2 separate regions of the Homo sapiens genome follow, and region 1 is linked to region 2. The links are contacts of gene promoters, found by promoter capture Hi-C in blood cells and fetal thymus (Javierre and others, 2016). All regions are on one chromosome and are shown on one strand. Each heading gives the region's core, a stretch centred on a gene start or on the middle of the fragment in contact. The rest is flanking DNA. Distances are from core to core; before and after follow the strand shown.

What was found. The method cuts DNA at HindIII sites, captures the fragments that hold promoters and counts their contacts. A CHiCAGO score of 5 or more calls a contact.
Region 1: a fragment that was not itself captured here is called in contact with the fragment with the promoter of TMEM255B in region 2 in 1 of 17 cell types (M1 macrophages); the score reaches 5.1 in M1 macrophages.

What each region holds. Positions count from the first base shown.
Region 1 is chr13:114,204,116-114,209,505 of GRCh38, reverse strand. The region is part of intron 3 of CFAP97D2 (CFAP97 domain containing 2); the gene reads right to left. Among named protein-coding and RNA genes, the nearest start is that of CFAP97D2, 28 kb to the right of the region's middle. The HindIII fragment of the contact is 302 bases long and covers 1,876-2,177 here.
Region 2 is chr13:113,755,768-113,761,032 of GRCh38, reverse strand. TMEM255B (transmembrane protein 255B) reads right to left here and starts at 1,807. Exons shown (of 9, transcript NM_182614.4): 1 at 1,718-1,807. The coding sequence starts at 1,763. RefSeq lists enhancers at 1,088-1,589, 2,146-2,647. The HindIII fragment of the contact is 10,322 bases long and covers 1-4,027 here.

The sequences.
Region 1 (5,390 bases), core at 777-3,276, 450 kb before region 2:
CCTACACGAACACTCTAGATTTCTTTTCACATACCAGGAAGGGCCCCTGAGACACGGAGGAGAAAGGTGTTGTACTTGAGACATCGTTTTAACTGACACCTTTGTTATTATTCCAGGCAGACCTGTTCACTTTATTATCTGGTCTTCTATGAGACCACCTACTCGTGTTATTGTGCAAATTGATGTCATCCAATTAAGTCTTCTCTTTCTTTTACTGTGCTTAAATGATGACTTTGGCTACTTGAAGTTTCACTGGAGCAAATTAGCTGTGTTGGATGCGGACAGCGGGATGGTGCCCAGATGGCAGTGGCAAGCGAGCTCCTGTTTCACTGTGGTCCTCACGGCAGCAGAAAGGGAATGTTTCTCTATTATCCATTCTTTGTGGATTATCCTTGCTTGCTTTCTTCTCTTTTCTTTTCATGAGTAATCGGTAGCTGGCTTCATTTGTCTTCCTTCCTCCCTAAATTTTCATTTAGCCAAATTCTCCTCCAGGCTTTAAAAATCACCTTCTATATCCAAAAACCAAAGGGGTCCTATTTAATTCTCTGAGGGATGAGGCTGTCTTTGGTTGTGGACCTGCTTATTCATATTGGAGGCGGCAGGGAGAACTCGCATCTTGTGGTTTCTGGCAGCCCAAAGGAAGGGGTTCTTGTCCAGGCTTCTGTATAGAAAACTGGACACATAGCAAGGTTCCCAAAGTCGTCCCAGCCAGAGCCAAATCCTAGAGACATGGGCTGGGAGATTTGGCACATAGTCCAGAAAACCATGGATAGAATTCAGGCATCCATGAACCTGGATAGGAAAGCAATTGCGTCATATTTTCACCAGTTTTTAGCTGTAATTCAGCATTTTCTTCCATTATAATTGGAGGCAACAAACACGGTAACCTATGACTTTATCACCAAGAGAAACTTCAGATATTACAGTTGGTGCTTATTTTTGGAACATTATTCATACTTATCACTTAGGTGAATTTTGGTGGCTATAGGGCCTGCTGCAGGGTTCTGTTATTTAATATGGTAATAAATAAGCACATGAATTATTTTGTCATGGTTAAAGAATTATTTTGATAACGTGCTTCAATATAATTGGCTGCCTGTCAAATTGTGTGGATTTTATTCTATTCATTTAAGCACACTGCTTTCAGGAGTCTATGACGTCACCATTCTTCCAAAGCAGGTCGTGGCACGAAAAAGTTAAAGAAATCCGTATTTGAAATATGAAGAAGCTAATAGCAACAACGATATTGGCTGACTTTTATTGAGTGCTGAGCACTAAGCATTTGCATGTATTAACTCATTTCATTCTCATGACAAGCCTACAAGAAAGGCACAGGAGTTCCTATTTTATACATGGGGAAACCAAGGAGCAGAGAACCTGACAATTTGTCCAAGGTCACACAGCTAGAAGTCGTGAAGCCCAGGTCTAAAGCTGGGAGAGACGGCAGAGTGAGCTGAGGTCCCACCAAGAGCCTGGCTCACAGATCTTACCAGCTCCATGGAATGTTGAAACTGCCGAGTGACCCAAGGAGATGCATTGATTACAGATTCTTTACTTTCTGGATACAGCTTCTCCTTGCTTTCTGGCCAATGTCTTCTCTTAGAGGAAGAGCATGGGACATATTTTGGACCTGAGTTGTAGAGCCAAAATGGGATTAAAAGCCACCACATAGCCTCTCTAGGGAAAAAAATGGTGGTGGTGACAAAGTCTAGTTGGCTACATGAGAACATTTACAAGCAAAGAACAATGATCTAATCAGTTTTCCCTATAAGGCAGAGGTCCCCAACCCCCGGGCCATGGACCCATACCAGTCTGTGGCCTGTTAGGAACCAGGCCAAACAGCAGGAGGTGAGCAGCAGGCGAGGGAGCGAAGCTTCATCTGTATTCACAGCCACTCCCCATTGCTGGCATTACTGCCTGAGCTCCACCTCCTGTCAGATCAGCAGTGCCATTAGATTGTCATAGGAGTGTGAACCCTATTGTGAACTGCACGTTCGAGAGATCTAAGCTGCGTGTTCCTTATGAAAATCTAATGCCTGATGATCTGTCACTGTCTCCACACGATCCCTAGATGGGACCATCTAGTTGCAGGAAAACAAACTCAGGGCTCCCACTGATTCTACATGATGTTGAGTTGTATAATTACTTCATTCTATATTACAATGTAATATCAAGCTTCACAAGAACGGGACCCCTCCCCTCGCTGTCCATGCCGTATCCCAGTAGCGTCCTCAATGGTGGCAAATAAACCCCTAGATTGTTTGAGACCTGTCTAGATACTTTCTGGTTTGCGAGCCCTGAGGACTTTCTGTGTGCCCTGCATGGTGCTGCCCTTGCAGCGGCAGGGGAGCAGATGGGGCTCAGGCTGAGCTTGTGCCTTGCCCACACCAGGTGGATGCGGGGACACTGCTGCCATGCGGTGGTGATGCTTGGCAGCCTGTGCCAGGGCCACAGCTTCTTTCTTTTATCCCCTCAGGAATTGCACTGGGTCTGGGAGGGGTCCCTTTTTGTTGGCATTTCAATGCCTGTCCCTTTAAGGCAAGAACTCCTCCCTGATCCCATACAGGAGCATCCATACACATCCAGCTGACCAGAGAAGGCCAGAATCCAGTGACCCTGGTCCCTTGCCATTTGCAGTAGGTTTGGTGAATGGGCTGTGGGTCTTAGAAGCCCCCAAAAGCAGTGAGATTCTTCCTTGAGATACAGTTCACATACCATACAAGTCACTCATTTATCGTGTGCAGTTCAATGGGGAGACGCCCACAGTCCTCAACAGTCAGTTGAGAAGATTTTCATCACTTCCTTAGGGAGCCCTGGACCCTTTATCATCTTGCTACCCCTCCATACCCTTGCCTTAAGCAACCACTGATCTACTTTCTGTTTCTATAGATTTGTTTCATATACGTGGAATCGTCTAATATGTGGTCTTTTGTGACTGCCTTCTTTCACTTAGCATGTTTTCAAAGTTCATCCATGTTGTAGCCCGTGTCAATACTTTATTCCATTTCATAGCTGGGCAATATTCCATTATATGGTTAGGGTTAGGGTTCAAAGTCTCCGCTGTATGGTCCTAAGAAGAAACATTTATTTAAAAAAAGCTACTGGCCAGGAGCGGTGGCTCACGCCTGTAATCCCAGCACTTTGGGAGGCTGAGGTGGGCAGATCATCTGAGGTCAAGAGTTCAAGACCAGCCTGGCCAACATGGCGAAACCCTGTCTCTACTAAAGATACAAAAATTAGCCAGGTGTGGTGGCACGCGCCTGTAATCCCAGCTACTCGGGAGGCTGAGGCAGGAGAATCACTTGAACTGGGAGGTGGAGGTTGCAGTGAGCCGAGATTGTGCCACTGCACTCCAGCCTGGGCAACAAAGCAAGACTTTGTCTCAAAAAAAAAAAAAAAAAGGAAAAGAAAAAAAGCTACTGTAATTTGGCAAATGTCTCTGGCATTTGAGCTGAAACCTGCTCTTTCCCTGCTGTTCCCAGCTCGGCAATGCAGACTGCACTCCAGAGGCTGCAGCCAGGCACACAGGCTCTACTCCCCATAGCTTCTAGTCGAAGGGCCTCCTTCCTGGAAGAGGCAGGGCCTCAGCTTTTCTCCTCTTGTCCTCAACTGCCTGTTGCTGAGACTAAGTCCCAGGTGAGTGTGGCATTGTTCTGCCCAGCCCCTGTTTATGGAATGGAGGATCAGCCTAGAGCCTTGGAAATTGTGCTTCTAAGAATACAGGAGCCCGGATCCCCTTGGGCTGGTTCACAGGCATTGGTTCCAAGATGGGAGAGGCAAGCCCAGAAGACCTGTGTGTCCCCACAACATACACACAATGAAGCAAAGAGCCTGGGGTGTCACTCAGAGAGAAGATTGCCATTGTCTCCACTCCCAGCTCTTCCCAAAGGGACGAGCTGTTCTAAATGCTGTTTCACTTGCAACAGAATTTAGAGAAGTTCAACCCTCACTGAACATGAAAATAAAAGACATCCAAATTGGGAAAGAAGAAGCAAACTATTTCTATTCACAGATGATATGATCTTGCATATAGAAAATCTTAAGGAATGCACTAAAAAGCTGTAGAACTAATCCACAAGTTCAACAAGGTTGCAGAATATAAGATCAATACACAAAAATCAATTGTATATGTTTTCGTGTAGACATGTTTTCATTTCTCTTGGTTATATACTTGGGAGTGAAATTGGTTATATGGTAAATATATTTAATCCCCATATATTTATTAAAATATGTTTAATCACTTGAGGAACTTCTGGACTGTTTTCCCAAGTGGCTGCACCATTCCTCCCAGCCCTGGAGGGTTCCAATTTCCCCACATGGTCACCAACACTCCTTCTTATCTGTCATTTTGATTCCAGTCAATCTGATAGGCGTGAAGTGCTATCACGTTGTGGTTTCGATTTGCATTTCCTTGATGATGAATGATGCTAAGTATCTTTTCATGTGCTTATTAATCATCTGTATGTCTTCCTTGGAGAAATGTCTATTCAGATCTTCTGCCCATCTTTTAATGAGGTCATTGTCTTTATCACTGAACTGTGAGAGGTCTTCATGTATTCTAGATGCAAGTCCCTAATCGTATCTGATTTGCAAATATTTTCTCCCATTCTGTGGGTTTTTTTTACTTTCTTGATAGTGTCCTTTGATGCACAAAAGTTGTTAATTTTCATTAAGTCCAGTTTATGTATCTTCTTGTTTGTCATTCCTGCTTTTGGTGCCATATCTTAGACTCCATTGCCAAATCTGAAGTCACGATGATTTCCCACTGTTTTCTTCTAAGAGTTTTATGGTTTTAGTTCTTACATTTAGGCCTTTGATCCGTTTTTGATTAATTCTTCTATATGGTGTGAGGTGAGAGTCCAACTTCATTCTTTTGCATGTGGCGATAGAGTTGTCTCAGCATTTGTGGAAAGACTATTCTTTCCTCACTGAATGGTCTTGGCCCCTTTGTTGAAAATACATTGATTATAGACACATGGACTCCCATTGATTTATATGTCTATCTTAATGCCAGTGTAATACTATCTTGATTACTATAGCTTTCTTAGTAAGTTTGAAATAGGTGTGGAGTCCTAATTAGGAAAGAGGAGTCAAGCTGGTGGGACCAAGGGAAAGCAAAGAGATAAAGCAGGTAAGCGACAAGTCTGCCTTTCTTCATGGTCCAGAACACGCAGCCCTCCTGCGCAAACAGCTCACAATTTTCCTGTGCCGAGCTATTACCAGACACCTGCAAGTTAGCTCACTGTAGCTTTGGTGTTATTGGTACTGCACAAAGCCCTCTTCAGCATAAATGCCACCCTATAAAATCCCCAGCAAGCCTTGGTCTCCTCATAGTCAGCCTCTCTCCTGTGGGCTGCCCGCTGCCTCCTCGAAATGTATTTTCCTACTTT
Region 2 (5,265 bases), core at 558-3,057:
AGAAAAACCCATAATCCTACCCCCAGGTACCCCAAAGCAGAAAGACTATGGTCCACCCCCAGATACCCCAAAGCAGAAAAACCCACAATCTACCTCCAGACACACCAAAGCAGAAAGACCATAACCCACCCCCAGACACACCAAAGCAGAAAGACCATAATCCACCCCCAGGCACACCAAAGCAGAAAGACCATAATCCACCCCCAGATACCCCAAAGCAGAAAGACCATAACCCACCCCCGATACCCCAAAGCAGAAAGACCATAATCCACCCCCAGACACACCAAAGCAGAAAGACCATAATCCACCCCCAGATACCCCAAAGCAGAAAGACCATAATCCACCCCCAGATACCCCAAAGCAGAAAGACCATAACCCACCCCCAGATACCCCAAAGCAGAAAGACCATAATCCACCCCGACACACCAAAGCAGAAAGACCATAATCCAACCCCAGACACACCAATGCTTTATACATTTTAGTAAAAGACCAGCTCCAAACAAAAAGACCCATAATCCTACCCAGATACACCAATGTTTCATATACTAAAAAGACCAGCTCCAAGTATTGTTTTAAGGTTTAAAGTTCTTTGTCAGAAGAAAATCTAAGTCAGATGCTATTTTTAAACATTAAGGCATTCTAATAATGATAAAACTAGTTAATAAATAATAATAATAGTTATCATTATTAAACACCAATAGACTAATCCACATTAATACATTTGACCATAGAGCATTTTGCTTTAGATTGGAAGGCATATAGTGGTTTCTTTTAGAAAGAAGCCAAATTATTTGATTATTTTAAGTAACAGTAATTCGTCCGGTTCCGAACGATGCCGCAGTAAAAGGGTTGTGAGGTTAATCCCCAGAAGTTTGTGTTGGATTATTTCTGAGGGAGCGGCAGAGCCCCCTAGACACCACTCCATCCCTCCCTCCAGCCGTCAGGGCTTCACTTTCTAGGGAACTCTGTTTCTCTTTTGTTCTGAAATCTGCCCAGCCCTCTCCCCCTCAGGAAGACACCCGGCATCCTTCCAGTCCTGGCCACTTCCCGGCAGAGCCCCCGAGCCCGGCTTGCGAACTGGTGAACACGCAACAGGTTTCCTGTTTTCCCAGCCTTTGCCTGGCTCCGAGGCTGCAGCGGGCTTGGTCTGGGAAGTGGAAGAATTGGAGATTCCGTGAACACACCGGGGAGAAACACGAGAGAGGGGCGAGCCGAAACCAAGCAACACTGTCCAGTTCTGTGAGCGCCTCTGCACGTTCAAACAGGAAAAGGCTACCTCGCTCTTCCAAACGAAGTTTTCCCGGAAAATGGTGTAGGTTGGAATAAACGGAAGAGATGGGGAAGGAGCGCACTTTGGGGCGCCTGTTCCTCATAATAAAACGTAACAGGGAGAGAGAGGCCAAGAGGAACGGACACAGAGTCAGAGAAAGGCAAAGACTGAGGAGGCAGAGACAGAAAGAGCGAGAGAGACAGAGACAGAGACAGAGAGAGAGACAGGGAGAGAGAATGAATGAACGAACCGGTAGGACGAACGCCCGACCCCAGTGCGAAATGCAAAGTGTTCCAAAGACAGAGCTCGAAGGAGGCGGAGGGACCAGACCCCGTGCCGCGTCTCCGCGCAGGTTCCGCCCGGGCCGGCCGGGGACCTGTAGTCCCAGCCCCGGGGTCCCCACGCTCCCCCGCAGGAGCCGAGACGAGCCCCCAGCCCCGCGCTCACCTGCGGGGTCCAGCAGGCCCAGGGGCCCGGGCACCGGCGGCTGCATCCCGAGGCCCCACCCGGCTCTCCCGGGGCCACAGCCACAGTCCCGCCGCCAGGAGCCGCCCTCGCGGCGCCGCCCCTTCCCCGCCCCCTGCACCTCCCCGCGCTCCGCCCGCCTCGCGTCCTTCCTCGCTCTACTCTCCCTTCTCCGGCGTTTCTTCTCCTCCCTCCCCCGCTGCGCCCGCTCCCCCTTCTCCCCTCCAGCGGCCGCCTGGTTTCTGGAAATCAGGACGCCGCGGCCGGGAGTGGAAGCCAGACCCCAGATGGAAGGTGCCTGGAGAGGACCCTGCGGACTCGGGGTCGGAGCCCCGGCCTGGGACGGTGACCCCGGGCCTTCCGCCGCTGGCGCCACGCTCAGCCCTTGGCGGTGCCGCTGAGTGGGTCACCACGGGTTCGCCTCCCCATTGGCCGGTGACGGAGCTCCTTGGGGCTACAGGGCCAGCCAGCCCTTGATCTCTGGGTTCAGAGGGTGGTACATGGTGTTACAACCCAGTCTGCGAGGAACGAGTAAATGAGGAACAAACGCAAATGAGTAAATGAGGAACAAACGCATCTGGCACCTCACTCAGCAGCCCCGAGGCAGGGCTGACCCGCCTCTCCAAGGCCTGCGTCTTTGTGTCCACAGCACTGAAGTTGTTCTGAGTAAAATCTGCTGCTGGAAAGAAGGGCAAGGAAACACGGGGCCAGAAAGGGTGCCTCGTACAGCAGCAGGAAAAAATAAAGATCCTTCTAAACGTATTTTTAACATCTTTGAGTCAAGGACATCAGCGGTCCCGTCACAAAAGAAGATGCTTGAACGATCAATAAACTCAGCCCCCGGAATTAGGGGAACGCTGTGGGAACAAGAGGATGCGTTTCACCCTCATCCTATCAGAAAACCCCAAGGGTCAAACAACTTAAAGAATGTTAATGAAAACGTGGGAATCTGCATTCACCGCTGGGATCACGCATGGTGCCACCACTTTGAAAGCAACCTTTAGGAAAATTGAAGCAAGTAGATGACAAGCCAGAAAGAAAGCATATCTCTTTCTAGATATGCCCAAGAACACAAACATAGATCTGCTCCTTCGAGCCAGGAGCCGTGGTTCTCAACCCCGGCTGTCGTTAAAGTCATCCAGGAATGTCTTTAAAAGAAAAAACATTTCTGCAGCACTGAACCCAGACCAGATCAATTGAACCAGAACTTCTGGGAACAAACTAATAGCTAAGAATTCCCTAGTCATTCTAATAGGCCATCCACTGTGAGAGAGAAACTACCACAAGAAGTATGCATGTGCTAGAAGATGCGTACAGAATATTCCTCACAACACTGTGTGTCCAAAGCACCGGACACACCCTGAATATCCAACACGGGGAGAAGCGATAAAGAAATGGGCATATACAGCGAAATACCACATGGCAGTTAAAATAAATGAGAGCTACATGGATCAATGTGGATAAATGCCAAAAACAGAACGCGGAGCAAAAATGCAAGTGCACAGTACGGCAGCGAGTACGACAGCAAGTACGGCAGCGAGTATGGTACCATTTATATAAAGTTTTAAACCATGAAAATTAACACTGTTCACTCAGTGAGCCTCTCAAGACTTACTAAACATCCGCGATATACCAGACACTGTTCCAGGTACTTGGGATGTATCAATGAGCAACGTAAACAAGGATCCTGGTGGGGAAGTGAGGCCATGAATAATAATACAATAAACAAGAAAAATGCACAGCATGTCAGAGGGCAACATGCTATGGAATACACACACACATATACACATACACACATGCAGACATACACACATGCATGCACATACACACATACACACACATGCATATATACACATGCATACATACACACATGCATGCATGTGTGCATACATACATGCACGCATACATACATGCACATACACACATGCATACATGTGTGCATACATACACGCACACATACATACACATACATACACACATGCATACATACACACTTATACGTGCATACATGCACATATGCACATATACATACACACATGCATGCATACACACATGCACACACATACACATGCACACATACATGCACACACATGCACATACACACACATACACACTTATACATACACACACATACACACATACATACATACACAGCCAGGTAATGCAGGCCACAGAAAAAGGAAAGAGAGGTAAAGAAACAAAATAGAAAGTATAGTGTGGGAGAGGGAGGGAGCTGTGGTTTTTAAGTAGTGAAAAGAGAGCTTGTTGACAGGTGATGTTGAAGACCAAGCTTGAGGGCGTGGAGGTGGTTGCTCACCCAGACATCTGGGGCAGAGGGTCTGAGGAAAAGGAACCTCCATGCAAAGGCCCTGGGGTGGAGCCATCCAGGCCCAGGGGGAGCAGCAAGGAGACCAGGGTGCCAGAGGCTTGTGGGGACCAGGTGGAGGACATCAGGGGTGAGCCGCAGGGCCTCTGGCCTTTGCTCCGAGTGATGTGGGGGTTATTGGAGGGTCCTACACATAGGATTACTGGAGAGTAGTTGTAGGATAGCAGAATGGAAGCTGAGAAACTGGTTATAGGATATGATGAAACAGTAGGAGGTGATTACACGGACACCATGAGTCATGTTTGCAGATACACGGACACCGTGAGTCCTGTGTGCAGATACACGGACACCGTGAGTCCTGTGTGCAGATACACGGACACGTTGAGTCATGTGTGCAGATACACGGACGTGAGTCTCGTGTGCAGATACATGGACACCGTCTCGTGTGTGCAGATACATGGACACCGTGACTCATGTGTGCAGATACACGGACGTGAGTCTCGTGTGCAGATACATGGACACCGCCTTGTGTGTGCAGATACATGGACACCATGAGTCATGTGTGTGCAGATACATGGACACCGTGAGTCATGTGTGTAGATGCATGGATACTGTGTAAGTAAAGTAGAAGAACATGCTGGGGGAGAGTGCATGCTTCATCCAGAACTGTGATTCTCTGTCTGGGTGGACAAGCTGAACAGCTTTGGAACTATGTCTAGGGGCTTAAACTCTATTTGTGAAATCTTCTTTCTTTAAAAAAGTTAAAAGACTTGTAAAAAAAGGGGGAATGTTGAGATACCATTAAGGCTAGATGGTGTGGACAGGGATGTTATATTATTCTCTATACTTTTCTGGATGTTTAAAATAGATGATTACTTTTTTGTAACTTTTTATTTTTATCTATTTTCAAACCTAAAGGTGGTTTGCAGGGATAGTGCAAGGAGCTCCTGTGCATCCTCTACCCAGGTGTGCCTTTGTTTGCAGTCTGTCACTTTTTTGTTTTTTGAGACATGCTGTGGCTCTGTGGCCCAGGCTGGAGTGCAGTGGCATGATCATAGCTTACTGCAGTCTCCACCTCCCAGGCTCAAGCGATCCTCTCACCTCAGCCTCCCAAGTAGCTAGGACCACAGGCGTGTGCTGCAACACCCAGCTAAGGTTTATACTTTTTGTAGAGATGGGGTTTCCTCATGTTGCCCAGGCTGAT